Regions from separate parts of the Homo sapiens genome. Here region 1 is linked to region 2. The links are contacts of gene promoters, found by promoter capture Hi-C in human tissues and cell types (Jung and others, 2019). All regions are on one chromosome and are shown on one strand. Each heading gives the region's core, a stretch centred on a gene start or on the middle of the fragment in contact. The rest is flanking DNA. Distances are from core to core; before and after follow the strand shown.

What was found. The method cuts DNA at HindIII sites, captures the fragments that hold promoters and counts their contacts. A contact is called where the count stands out against the background at its distance.
Region 1: a fragment that was not itself captured here is called in contact with the fragment with the promoter of PLAC9 in region 2 in 2 of the 25 tissues and cell types used here (bladder and spleen).

What each region holds. Positions count from the first base shown.
Region 1 is chr10:80,240,182-80,245,911 of GRCh38, reverse strand. No RefSeq gene overlaps it. Among named protein-coding and RNA genes, the nearest start is that of LINC00857, 35 kb to the right of the region's middle. The HindIII fragment of the contact is 7,440 bases long and covers 1-5,730 here.
Region 2 is chr10:80,131,005-80,136,739 of GRCh38, reverse strand. It overlaps PLAC9 (placenta associated 9), which reads right to left and starts at 4,010. Exons shown (of 4, transcript NM_001012973.3): 1 at 3,914-4,010. The coding sequence starts at 3,977. The HindIII fragment of the contact is 8,390 bases long and covers 1-5,735 here.

The DNA of each region.
Region 1 (5,730 bases), core at 1,067-3,566, 110 kb before region 2:
CAGAAGAGTCACACGCCAGGAATAGAGGTGGACAGGAAACACCCTGACTTTTGTAGGGACTGAACCTCACTGATAACCTCAATTGCGGATGGTATGGAGGGTGTCTAGGTGTGCTAGGACCCCTGCCCATTCCCCAGAAATAGACTCCCATCTTTTCTGCAGCAAGATAACATGCTAGTCGGCCTCAATTCATTGCTAAATATTTTTAACGAGTGTCTTACATTTAGCCAAAAAGACTAGTCATGTGGCAGGAAAAATACAATGTCATATGACCAAAAGCTAAAAGACTGTGAAAATGAATCCCGAGGTGACCCAAGCATTGAATTTAACAATGCCAGTACCTGGACCTCCGCTTGCCCCTAAAACATTACAATCAAGAATGTAGGAAGGGAAAGGAAACACGAAGATTAATCAAGCAGGAAGGACAAGCTCAGTTTTGCACCCACTGAATTTGCCACAAATATTGTGGAAAATATTCTCGGGGACATTGCAGTTGTCTACTTTGGTTGGCACATGGTTCATACAACAGTGTTTGTGTCAGTGAACATCTTACTCTTCCTCGGCAGTCTTTCTTTGCCCAGAGATTTCGCAATGACTGTTGACCTTCATCATCACCTTTTGGACTTTGGCTTGCACTTTAGCTTCTGTAGATCTCCATAATGTAAAGAGGTATTTTGGGTCCATTTTAATTCCTGCAAAGGATAAAATCCTTCTATTCGTGTGCATATAAGTGGACCTGAGCCCTTGGTTAGGGTGTAGAGAGGAGACGGGGAGAAACCTGAGGGCCAGAAGCTGTTCTTTCCCTTAAAAGGGCAAACTCATTTCCACACTATGGGGACTCTGACAGATAGCATACCTTCCTGGCTACGGCTATTGGACCTGCAGGCTTTCCCCTGTAAATCCGTGTTCTGTCATTGACATTTTGTGACTGTAAGACAGACTTGAGATAAGACATCTAGAAAACAATAATTGAACAATGATGTGAATATATTTCACACAACTGAACTGTACATTTCAACAAGGTTAAGATGGTAATTATCACGTTATACATATTTTACCGCAGGTTAAAATGTTTCACAGGTTGAAAGGAAAGCAACTACCTTCAGTTCTCTGAGTTCAAGAATTTGTAACATTTCACCCCCTGCTCCTTCCTGATCTTCTGTGGAGCATCTTTTTTCCATCCATGCTCTACTCAGAGCCCACTTTCCCTTCCCTGACACCAGCTTCACTGAGGCTGGTTGGAACCTAACACAAAACATTCTCAGTAATGACTGAATTCCCACAAAGAATTCCATATAGACCGCATATGAGTTGAATCTTCTAAGACATGAAATATTTGTTCTCTTCTTGGCTAATATGCAATGCAAATCCTGTTGCAAATGTACGTCATATACCTCTGAAATTCCTGATGTATTCAATGAAATAACATCTTTAAAGTTCTGTGTAGAATGCTTTTTTTTCTGATTTCTTCACATAGGATAGAAAAAAAAACCCAAAAAAACATGTACTAGGATTTCGATAGAAGCAATGGGTGATCTAAAAAGATGAAAGAGCAACCGCATGCGCCCCACAGCTACCGCTAGATTTTATGGGGAAAGCAGCTGGCCCAGTTTGCAGCTAGGAGAAATGTCAAACACATGAAGAAATGAGAAGCAAAGAAAAACCGTGAGGCATGAACATTTCATGGCACTCACGATGTCCTGGTTTGTGAGATAATGGGATAGAGGAGTAGATAACAAGGAGAAAGATGAGAAGGTGCAAAGTGGTTCAAGTCAAACAGCTCAACTGAACTTTTCTTAATGGAATATTTAAAAAGTGGTACATTAAAAAACTTCCCCCAGTTCACATCAAAAATTCTCTCTTCAGGACTAAGTTGAGTAGAGACTGTTCAATGTGCCTAGATATCTTCAGAACTCATATATTTTCTGTTTTCTACGTATGTTGAAGGGCAGTGCCAAATGATGTGTAATTATCTAGGTTGTAAAAATAAAACATACTCCCCCTTCCCTTGAGGATAAAAAAGCATTGTGGTGTTAGCACTTTTTTCTTGGATCATTGTTCAGAAGATGTTTAAGCCCCTAGACACCCAAACTTTTACTGTCATGAACAGCAAGAGAAAACGTAGAGCTCGATTTACTCAATGGACAAAAATGCTCAAAAGCCAAATTATGGCACAATTTAGCAGCCACATTCTTAACCAGTACAGACTTTTGACATACCGATCCCTCTCCAGTGGCAACCGAGAACATGTACTTTGAATGATGCCATTTGAAATGACCACTCATTACTCTGCCCAGACACACTTTTCATTGATTCTTCGGAGGGCAGTTCCAAGAGATTCTCTGGGGCTTTCTCTGCATCATGAGACACAGTGCAGTTCTGCCCTTGACCTTCCTGCAGTTTGTCGCCTCTTCCTCATGATCTCAGAGGAACTTTGTCTCAGGCCAGCTGTTTGTTCCTTGGGCTCTTTCATTTCCCCTAATAATCATTTGCTGCCCTGCCTTCATCTCCATCTCCCTTTTCCCTGAGAAGAGGGTGCTCATTAAGCATCAATCATCTGGCCCTTCTTGCAGTCTCATTTTTTGGCTGGCTCCCATGTTTATGCCTGTTAATAAGGTTCTATGTTTTCCTTCTCCTGTTAAGCTGTCTGTTGTTAGTACATTGCTGCAGTGAACCTTTAGAGAGGAGAGTGGAAGCTTTCCTTCCACCCATACAATAGAACTATAAAGCAGAAAAGTTTAGAAAGAATTTCTTATTTAAGTGCTGAAACTTTATACTTCAGTTTTTGATAAAGAGCAGAGGGCTTAAAAAAACGTATTTTTGACCAAAAGCTCTGTTGACATTCTATTAAACAAACACAAACCTATTTAATTTTTTAATTAAATAGGTTGAATTAAAAATTTAAAAAAATTTAAAAAATCTGCCATAATTTAAATGGCAGATTTTTCATAATTCTTATGCTAATAAATCATTTCCTGATTTTTTAAATAAAACCCAATATTCATAATGAAGTCCAGAACCACAAATTGTTTTAAATAATTTCTTATTTGTGATTACAAGTCCACCTCTAGGGAAAGTTAGTGTACTCACACCAAGGCTAGTTTTGCAGAAGAAAATGGCAAGTTTGTAAATTCCCAGGGACACAACAATAATGATAAGCATCCAAGGAATTCCAAAAAAGTCAGGCCCGGGATGAAAATGCCCAGGCAGAAAATTGACGATATGGAATACTACTAGTTGACATAATGAGAAGGCTCAATGACATTTACAATATTTCAGTTACAAAGGATCATCCTTAGAAACCCTTAACCTCCTCCAAGAAGTAACCACACCCCTCAGATATCCCCGGGCAATTCCACTGCTTCAGGAAAGATTGGAAATTTCCAGTCTCATGTTTCTTGCATGGATGGTAGTGTATTTAGGCGTGCAAATGTGGGCTGTCTTTTTTCTTGGTCTGAAGCAGGCATGTCCAGTCTTTTGGCTTCCCTGGGCTATATTAGAAGGAGAATTGTCTTGTGCCACACATAAAGTACACTAACAATAACTGATGAGGAAAAAAAATCACAAAAAAATCTCAGAATGTTTGAAGAAAGTTTAGAAATTTGTGTTGGGCTGCATTCAGAAAAGCTGTCCCGGGTTGAATACACTCTGCCACCCATGGGTTGGACAAACTAGGTATAAAGTGATTATCTTTAAAGTCATTTACTTATTTTTTAGATTGAAATATAACATTGAATGTATTTGTCATGTATCACATGATAAAGGAATCTCTCTGGATCCCACTTCTTTCTTGAATTACATGAATCTTTGCAATTTAAAGAATATAAGTAAAAAAATACAATTAAGAGATGACTTCATTCAGAAATAAGTATCAAATTTTAGTGCTTAAAAATAACCAAGGTGGAGGGTGGGTGCAGTGGCTCATGCCTGTAATCTCAGCACTTTGGGAGGCTGAGGCAGGTGGATTACCTGAGGTCAAGAGTTTGTGACCAGCCTGGCCAACATGGAGAAACCCCATCTCTACTAAAACAAAAATTCTCTGGGTATGGTGGCAGGTGCCTGTAATCCCAGCTAATTGGGAGGCTGAGGAGGCTGAGGAAGAAGAATCGCTTGAACCCAGGAGGCACAGGTTGTGGTGAGCCAAGACCACCCAGCTGCACTCCAGCCTGGGCAACAAGAGGAAACTCCGTCTCAAAACAATAAATAAATAAATATTTAGAAATTTGTGTTACATTATTTGTAATATATAAAAAAAGAGTCCACACTGTATGATGGAAGAATGAGAAAAATATAAGAAAAAAGTCTTAAAGTTATAGATGAAAATATGACATAAAGATATGTTTATATCTATGCAAAACCGAGAGTGGACAGCTGCTATAATAATAATACCTGGGTTATATTCCAACAAAAATAATCACAGATGGTTGTTTAGCCCAAGTTTCTAAAATCAGTGTTCACTTTGCTGCTGACACAGCGCACGTCATGTCAGATTTTCAAAGTCAAAAAGAATTTGCATAACAAAGTCTTTTTGGAATTATGATTAAAACTGTGAGAATTGAATTTAGTTAAAAATACAACACCGGCCAGGCACAGTAGCTCACGCCTGTAATCCCAGCACTTTGGGAGGCCGAGGCGGGAGGATCACGAGGTCAATAGATCGAGACCATCCTGGCCAACATGGTGAAACCCCGTCTGTACTAAAAATACAAAAATTAGCTGAGCATGATGGCATACACCTGTAGTCCCAGCTACTAGGGAGACTGAGGCAGGAGAATCACTTGAACCCGGGAGGCGAAAGTTGCAGTGAGCCGAGATGGCTCCACTGCACTCCAGCCTAGCGACAGAGCGAGACTCCATCCTCCCCATCAAAAAAAGCCCACCAAATAACCAGTAACAAGAGTTCACCTTCATATTTTAGAGCATTGCACCTAAAGCAATCAGTAGCAACCTTGGAAATCTGCATGGAAAACAATATAAATGTTCTGGAATGTATGGCCACCACCACAAAAGGCACACATACTATTTTACAAGCACTAGATTTACAAGTATTGGGGGAGAAAATAAATTCAAAATGTAATTCAGACCAATCCACACACCAAGACTCAGTTTTGTGCAAATAAAACCTCTTTAGAAAGCAGCCTTTGACCTCTGTAGCACTTTTGTCTTCAGCCTCACAGTGGAGGTGAGTACAGCCTGGGCTCCTGGGAGGGATGCACTGTCCCTGAGGAGCCTCTGTCTGAAAAGGAGTAGGAGCTCTGGGCACAATGGTTAAAGATGTGGATCAAATGTACAAGAAGGATAAAGGCCATCTTGTCATTGACCAGGAACTCATCCCCCATCTTGGGCACTCTTGTCACACCTGACAACTATCTGGTTGTAGGTTATCAGTAGTGGGCTCCTACCTAGATTAGGTCCAATGGGGCCAGTAAAAGCTTCGGTTCTGACAGTCGATAGCCATGAGCAAGGGTGAAAGTAGAAAATGCAATGAGGAAAATGTATCCAAGTCTTCAAAGGTGAGGTAGGGAAAGAGAGTTTAACTGATCTATGAAAATGCAGCCAGGTAAAGGGGAAACAATTCCAACAAAGATTCTCAACACATTTCCTCCTTCATAGCCTCAAAAGAAACAATAGATTCTTTGATTGGAGGCATTCATGTGGGGTGATTCTGCCTGGATGCAGTGGTTGCTCCCCATCACTAGACTTCCAAATCTCTTCCTAAGAATCTGGTGC
Region 2 (5,735 bases), core at 2,761-5,260:
GAAGTTTGAGGTCACTCTGGGCAACATAGTGAGACTCTGTCTCTACAAAAATAAATAAATAAATAAATAAATAAATAAATAAAATAAAAATTAAAAAAAAATTAGCCAGGATTGGTGGTATATACTTGTAGTCTCAGGTATTTGGAAAGCTGAGGCGGGAGAATCGCTTGAGCCCAGGAGTTTGAGACTACAGTCAGCTACGATTGCACCACTGCACTGCAGCCAGGGTGACAGTGAAAGACTGTGTCTTGTAAGAAAATAAATAAATGAATAAAAAATAGTAGACACGCACATGCACCACAGGGCTGTCAGTGGCTCAGACAAGGGGAGTGGAAAAGACTGAAGGATTATGATGATTAACCCTGAGCAGCCAAGGCTGTGGCTCCTCAGGGCTCCCTTCCTTCCTTTCCTCCCGCTCTCCCAGGCCCTGCCAGTTGGGAAATGGACCTCCTTGGATGCTGCGTTGTTTTCTCTGGCCCGGCTCCTGCTAGGGGCCTGATGTGCACCCTGGATGGTGGCCATGGGTGGGGCATCCTGTGCTGGTGAGAACACGCTGCTGTGGAGCCCGGAGGCCCCAGAGGAGGGCTCGGCTGGGCTGGCTGCCCCAGTTAAAGAGACGTGGCCCCTGGGTCCCATCCTCTGAGGCGGAAGTACGGGTGCTTCTACTTACAGGCCTTATGGGGAGACCTTTTGTATCTGGACCCAAACAGTAAGAAAGGGCCACAACACAGATGATTTCTGCATGCTGGGGGTTGAGAAATGTTTTCTCAGTGGCATCTGAAAGGTGCCGCTGTATCTTCTGAATTGTCAAAGTCACACTCTGCTTTGAAAAGCAACCCTGGCCACTTGGGGGTTAATTATATTTGACCACATTCAACATAATAGAATAATAAATTTACCACATCCAATATTTGTATTAAAATGTATGATTCACTCAAAACCATCCACGGGTTTTGATCATTTTTGAAAGCAGCAGAAAACTATTCTTCAAGTGATTTTATAAAAAACTCCAAAATATGGGCCGGGCGTGGTGGCTCATGGTCTAAAAAGCCATCAGGGATAAAGGTTTCTCTGAGTGCTGCTAAAAGAAACCAAGACTTGGGCCCAGCGCGGTGGCTCATGCCTGTAATCCCAGCACTTTGGGAGGCCGGGGCAGGCTGATCACTTGATGTCAGGAGTTTGAGACCAGCCTAGCCAACATGGTGAAACTCCCCCGCAGCCCCCGTCTCTACTAAAAAATGCAAAAATTAGCTGGGTGTGGTGGTGCACACCTGTAATCCCAGCTACTTGGGAGACTGAGGCACGAGAATTGCTTGAACCCAGGAGGCAGAGGTTGTGATGAGCTGAGATCGCACCACTGCACTCCAGCCTGGATGACAAAACAAGACTCTGTCTCAAAAAAAAAAAAAAAAAAAAAAGGCCGGGCGCAGTGGCTCACACCTGTAATCCCAGCACTTTGGGAGGCCGAGGCGGGCAAATCACAAGGTCAGGAGATCGAGACCATCCTGGCTAACACAGTGAAACCTCATGTCTACTAAAAATACAAAAAAAATTTAGCCGGGCATGGTTGCAGCCGTCCGTAGTCCCAGCTGCTTGGGAGGCTGAGGCAGGAGAATGGTGTGAACCCGGGAGGCGGAGCTTGCAGTGAGCGGAGATCGCACCACTGCACTCCAGCCTGGGAGACAGAGCGAGACTCCATCTCAAATAAATAAATAAATAAATAAACAAACAAACAAACCAAGGTTGGAAGTTGGACGTGCTAGAGATAGCTCTCAATTTATAGAAAATATAAGGGGTGGAGGTATTTAAATGACATAAAAGGGATGCAATTAGCAAAATCTAAATGTGGAAAACTTTACAGGACAAACTTAGTTTCTTCAACAAAAACAAAAAATTAAGTAAAAAAAGGGGAGAGAAGACTTACATATTTAAAGAGATCTAACAGACATATTGACCAAATGCAGTGTATGTAACCTTATTTGGATCAAACAAATGAATTGCAAAAAGATATGACACAATCAATCAAGGACATTTGAACAGTGATTGAATATTTAATGATATTCAATCACACACAGTTTTTGGAGTATGATCATAGCATTGCAGTTATGTTTATTAAGAGTGCTTATCTCTTAGAGGTACACAAAGAAATATTTATAGATGAAAATACATGATGCCAGGCCAGGCATTGTGGCTCACACCTGTAATCCCAGCACTTTGGGAGGCCAAGGCAGGTGGATCACTTGAGCCCAGGAGTTCGAGACCAGCCTGGCCAACATGGTGAAACCCTATCTCTACTAAAAATACCAAAATTAGTCAGGTGTGGTGGTGCGTGCCTGTAGTCCCAGCTACTCAGGAGGCTGAGGCAGGAGAATCAGTTGAACCCGGGAGACGGAGGTTGCAGTGAGCTGAGATTGTGCCACTGCATTCTAGCATGGGTGACAGAATGAAATCCTGTCTCAAAAAAAAAAAAAAAAGAAAGAAAGAAAGAAAGAAAATATACAATGCCTGGATTTCCTTTAAAATAATCCAGGGAGGGGAGAGAGGGTGGAGGCTATAGATGAGATAAAACTGCCCATGAACTGATACTTCTTGAAGCAGCGTTGATAAGTATATTACATGATTCTTTCACATACTATTACTTTGTATTTTTTTGTATCCAAAAGTTTTCATAATCAAAAGTTAAGATATATCATCTAAAATCTGAAAGATTATGCACAAAAATATATGAAATCAGTGTGAAATTACACTAATACATGAATACTTTCCTCCTTTCCTTCTTCTTTTTTTTTTTTTTTTGAAACTGAGTCTTGCTCTGTCACCCAGGCTGGATTGCGGTGGCTTGATCTCGGCTCACTGCAACCTCCGCCTCCCAGGTTCAAGTGATTCTCCTGCCTCAGCCTGCCGAGTAGCTGGGACTACAGGCATGTGCCACCACGCCCGATTAATTTTTTGTATTTTTAATAGAGACAGCATTTCACCATGTTAGCGAGGCTGGTCTTGATCTCCTGAGCTTGTGATCCGCCCGCCTGAGGGGTAGGTGAGGGGAAGAAAGCGGACAGTGAAAAGCAAGGAACCCAGCTAATGGAGTACCCAGACAGCCTCTCTCCTCCGCACAGCTCTCCACCTCCACCCAGTCCCCCATCTCCACCCAACATAGCTCAGTTTCCCAGAGAAGCTCCCTGGAAACCGGGAGGCTGACTTCTTCACTGACTGCAGATCCACCTGAGGCCACCTGGCAGGTGAATCGGTGGCCTTTCTCCTGGGCCCGACTGCCTGGTTCCTTAAGGCTGTGCTGGGCTAGCCTGGGTCACTCATCCTTTGGAGTGTGGCTTCTTATGCAATGTCCTATAAAGCCAGGCCTGAGCCTCCACAGGCCCTCTGAGATGGAGCTGGCCTCCGGGGCTGCCCCACCCAGCAGCTGTGACCTCCCACTCCAGATCCTGGCTCCTTCTCTCTTGCCAGCTCTACTCCGGGCATCGAGCTTCCCTCTCTCTCCTTTTTGGTCTCTCTCAAATCTTTCTCTTTTCTTCAATATCCTCTCTCCCTCCACCCCTTGCCATTTTAATCACTTTTTCTCTTTCCTTCTTCTCTTTTGTCTCTCAAACTCCTTTTTCTTTCTATCTTAGTTCATATCTGTTCAGGGGAAGCCTCTTTCTGTCTCAGCCTCTCCTTTTTCCTTTTCACTGTGTATTCTTCCCTATCTCCTTTATCTCTCCGTTGCTCTACTTCTCTGCCTTTTTCTGAGTCTGTTTCCTCTCAATCTTTCTCTCCATCCCTCCCTCCCTGCATCTGCCTCTCTGTCCATCTCGCTGCTGTGTCCAGCTCTCTCTCCGTCTCTCTCGCTCATTCCTTCCTCGCCATCTGCGGGTCTCCCCGGCTCCAGGTCCCCTGCCGCGCCCTGCGCCCCACTCACCGGCCAAAGAGCCCGCGGCGCGGAGCAGGGCCAGTCCGGTCAGCGCGCAGAGCAGGGGCCGCATGGTGCCGGCCTGGCCGAGCGCAGCGCCGCGTCTGCCCGCAGCCGCCCTTCCCGGATCGCACCCGGCCGGCCCGAGAGGAAATGCACTCAGTTCGAGCCAAAATTCCTGGGCGGCTCCGGACTTTCTGGCTCGAGAGAACCCGCCCCCTCCAGAGGCCCCTCGGCACCCCGTGGGCAGCGCGGAGCCCAGAGACCCCGGGAGCTGAGGCACCGACGTGCCACCTGGGCGCCTCCCGAGGAAGGGGCCGCCCCCCGAGTCCCCGCACCTCCTGGGAGCCCGGGAGGGAAGGCGGGGCGGGGGGCATTGGGTGAGGTCTTGGGCTCAAGGCGACCGAGCCTGGGGTCAGGGGTTTGTTACGAGCCAGTTTCACAGGCGGGCAGACTAAGACTCGGAGGGAAGTGTCTTCCTCGGCATCACTCTCAGCCATAGCACAGGATCTGAACCCCTGTCTCCTGGGAGTTTGGCAGCTTTTCTCTGTCTACCTACGAACAAGAAATTAATTCTAATTACATGGAACAGTGTCTGCCCCTAAGAGGGAGACCCAGAAACTCACTGCTCTGGTAAGGGAGTGATAGAAATATGAAAAGGTAATTTTAAAAAGAAAAGGTAAAATCGTAACTCTCGCAAAGATATGAAATTAGCATATACTAAAGATTTTATTCAATTCATTATTAATGAGGGGATAAGTAAGATGGTACAAGCAGCCCAAAGTTTAGAGCACAGTAGTGGAAACTTCCCCTATGGGACATGCCCATCCAACAAGTGCAACAACAAATTAAGTTTTAGTAAAAACACAAAGCAAAAAAGCTGTAGCTCTAACTTCTCTGCTGCAGAGCCCTGAGTGAGTGTCTCGTCTGGCTGTAAGTGGAACACATTCATCACCAAGCCTGGGAGAATGCCTTTGTCCATCAAGGGTCCCCGTTGGGATTACCTGGAGCTCTTGCAGATCAAGGCTGCCTCTCTGCCTTCTGTGTTCCTGGCTGTGGCTATGCAATTGTCCAAAACAGTTACCACGCTAACCAGTGATCCAGTTCTCACTCCCTCCTCCAGAGCAAGATAGTAGCCTCAGACGGAGAAATTCTGGTTCTGAGCCCGAGAATCTGAGACAGACTCAGATCTAAATCTTTTAAAAGCCTTCAAGGAGATTATGATGCCCACATGAGCTGGCTCAGAAGAAGAATTTATTTCAGGAATGCCAAAAATTTCTCACGCTTGGTGGTAGGACATTCCTTGATAGTTTCGCCAGGTGGGAAAAAAAGTTGTCAAAGAACTGCCCAACTCATAAGGATTCTTGTAGCTTAGAGCCAGTGGGCTACCTTATATTTTGAATTTAAGACTAAGAAAACACACACACACACAAAAACATATACAATACATTATTGTTGCGGTAGAGCATAAAGTAATTAAGTATACAGAGTAAAACATGAAAGTCTTTTCTGTTACGAATTCCCTCCGTCCAATGATTCAGGTCCAGTCCCCTCAACTTGGTAGGCTCTGCCTGTTCCACGTCTATGCATTCCCCATCTACCTAATGTATATTCAGACACAAATGTATATACATGAGATCAAGTCATAGATATTTTGAAGATTTGCTTTCATTCATGTTTATCTCAGTCATAACATTAAATCTTGGCTGGGTGCAGTGGCTCACGCCTGTAATCCCAGCACTTTGGTAGGCCGAGGTGGGTGGATCACCTGAGGCCAGGAGTTTGAGACCAACCTGGCCAACGTGGTGAAACTCCGTCTCTGCTAAAAATA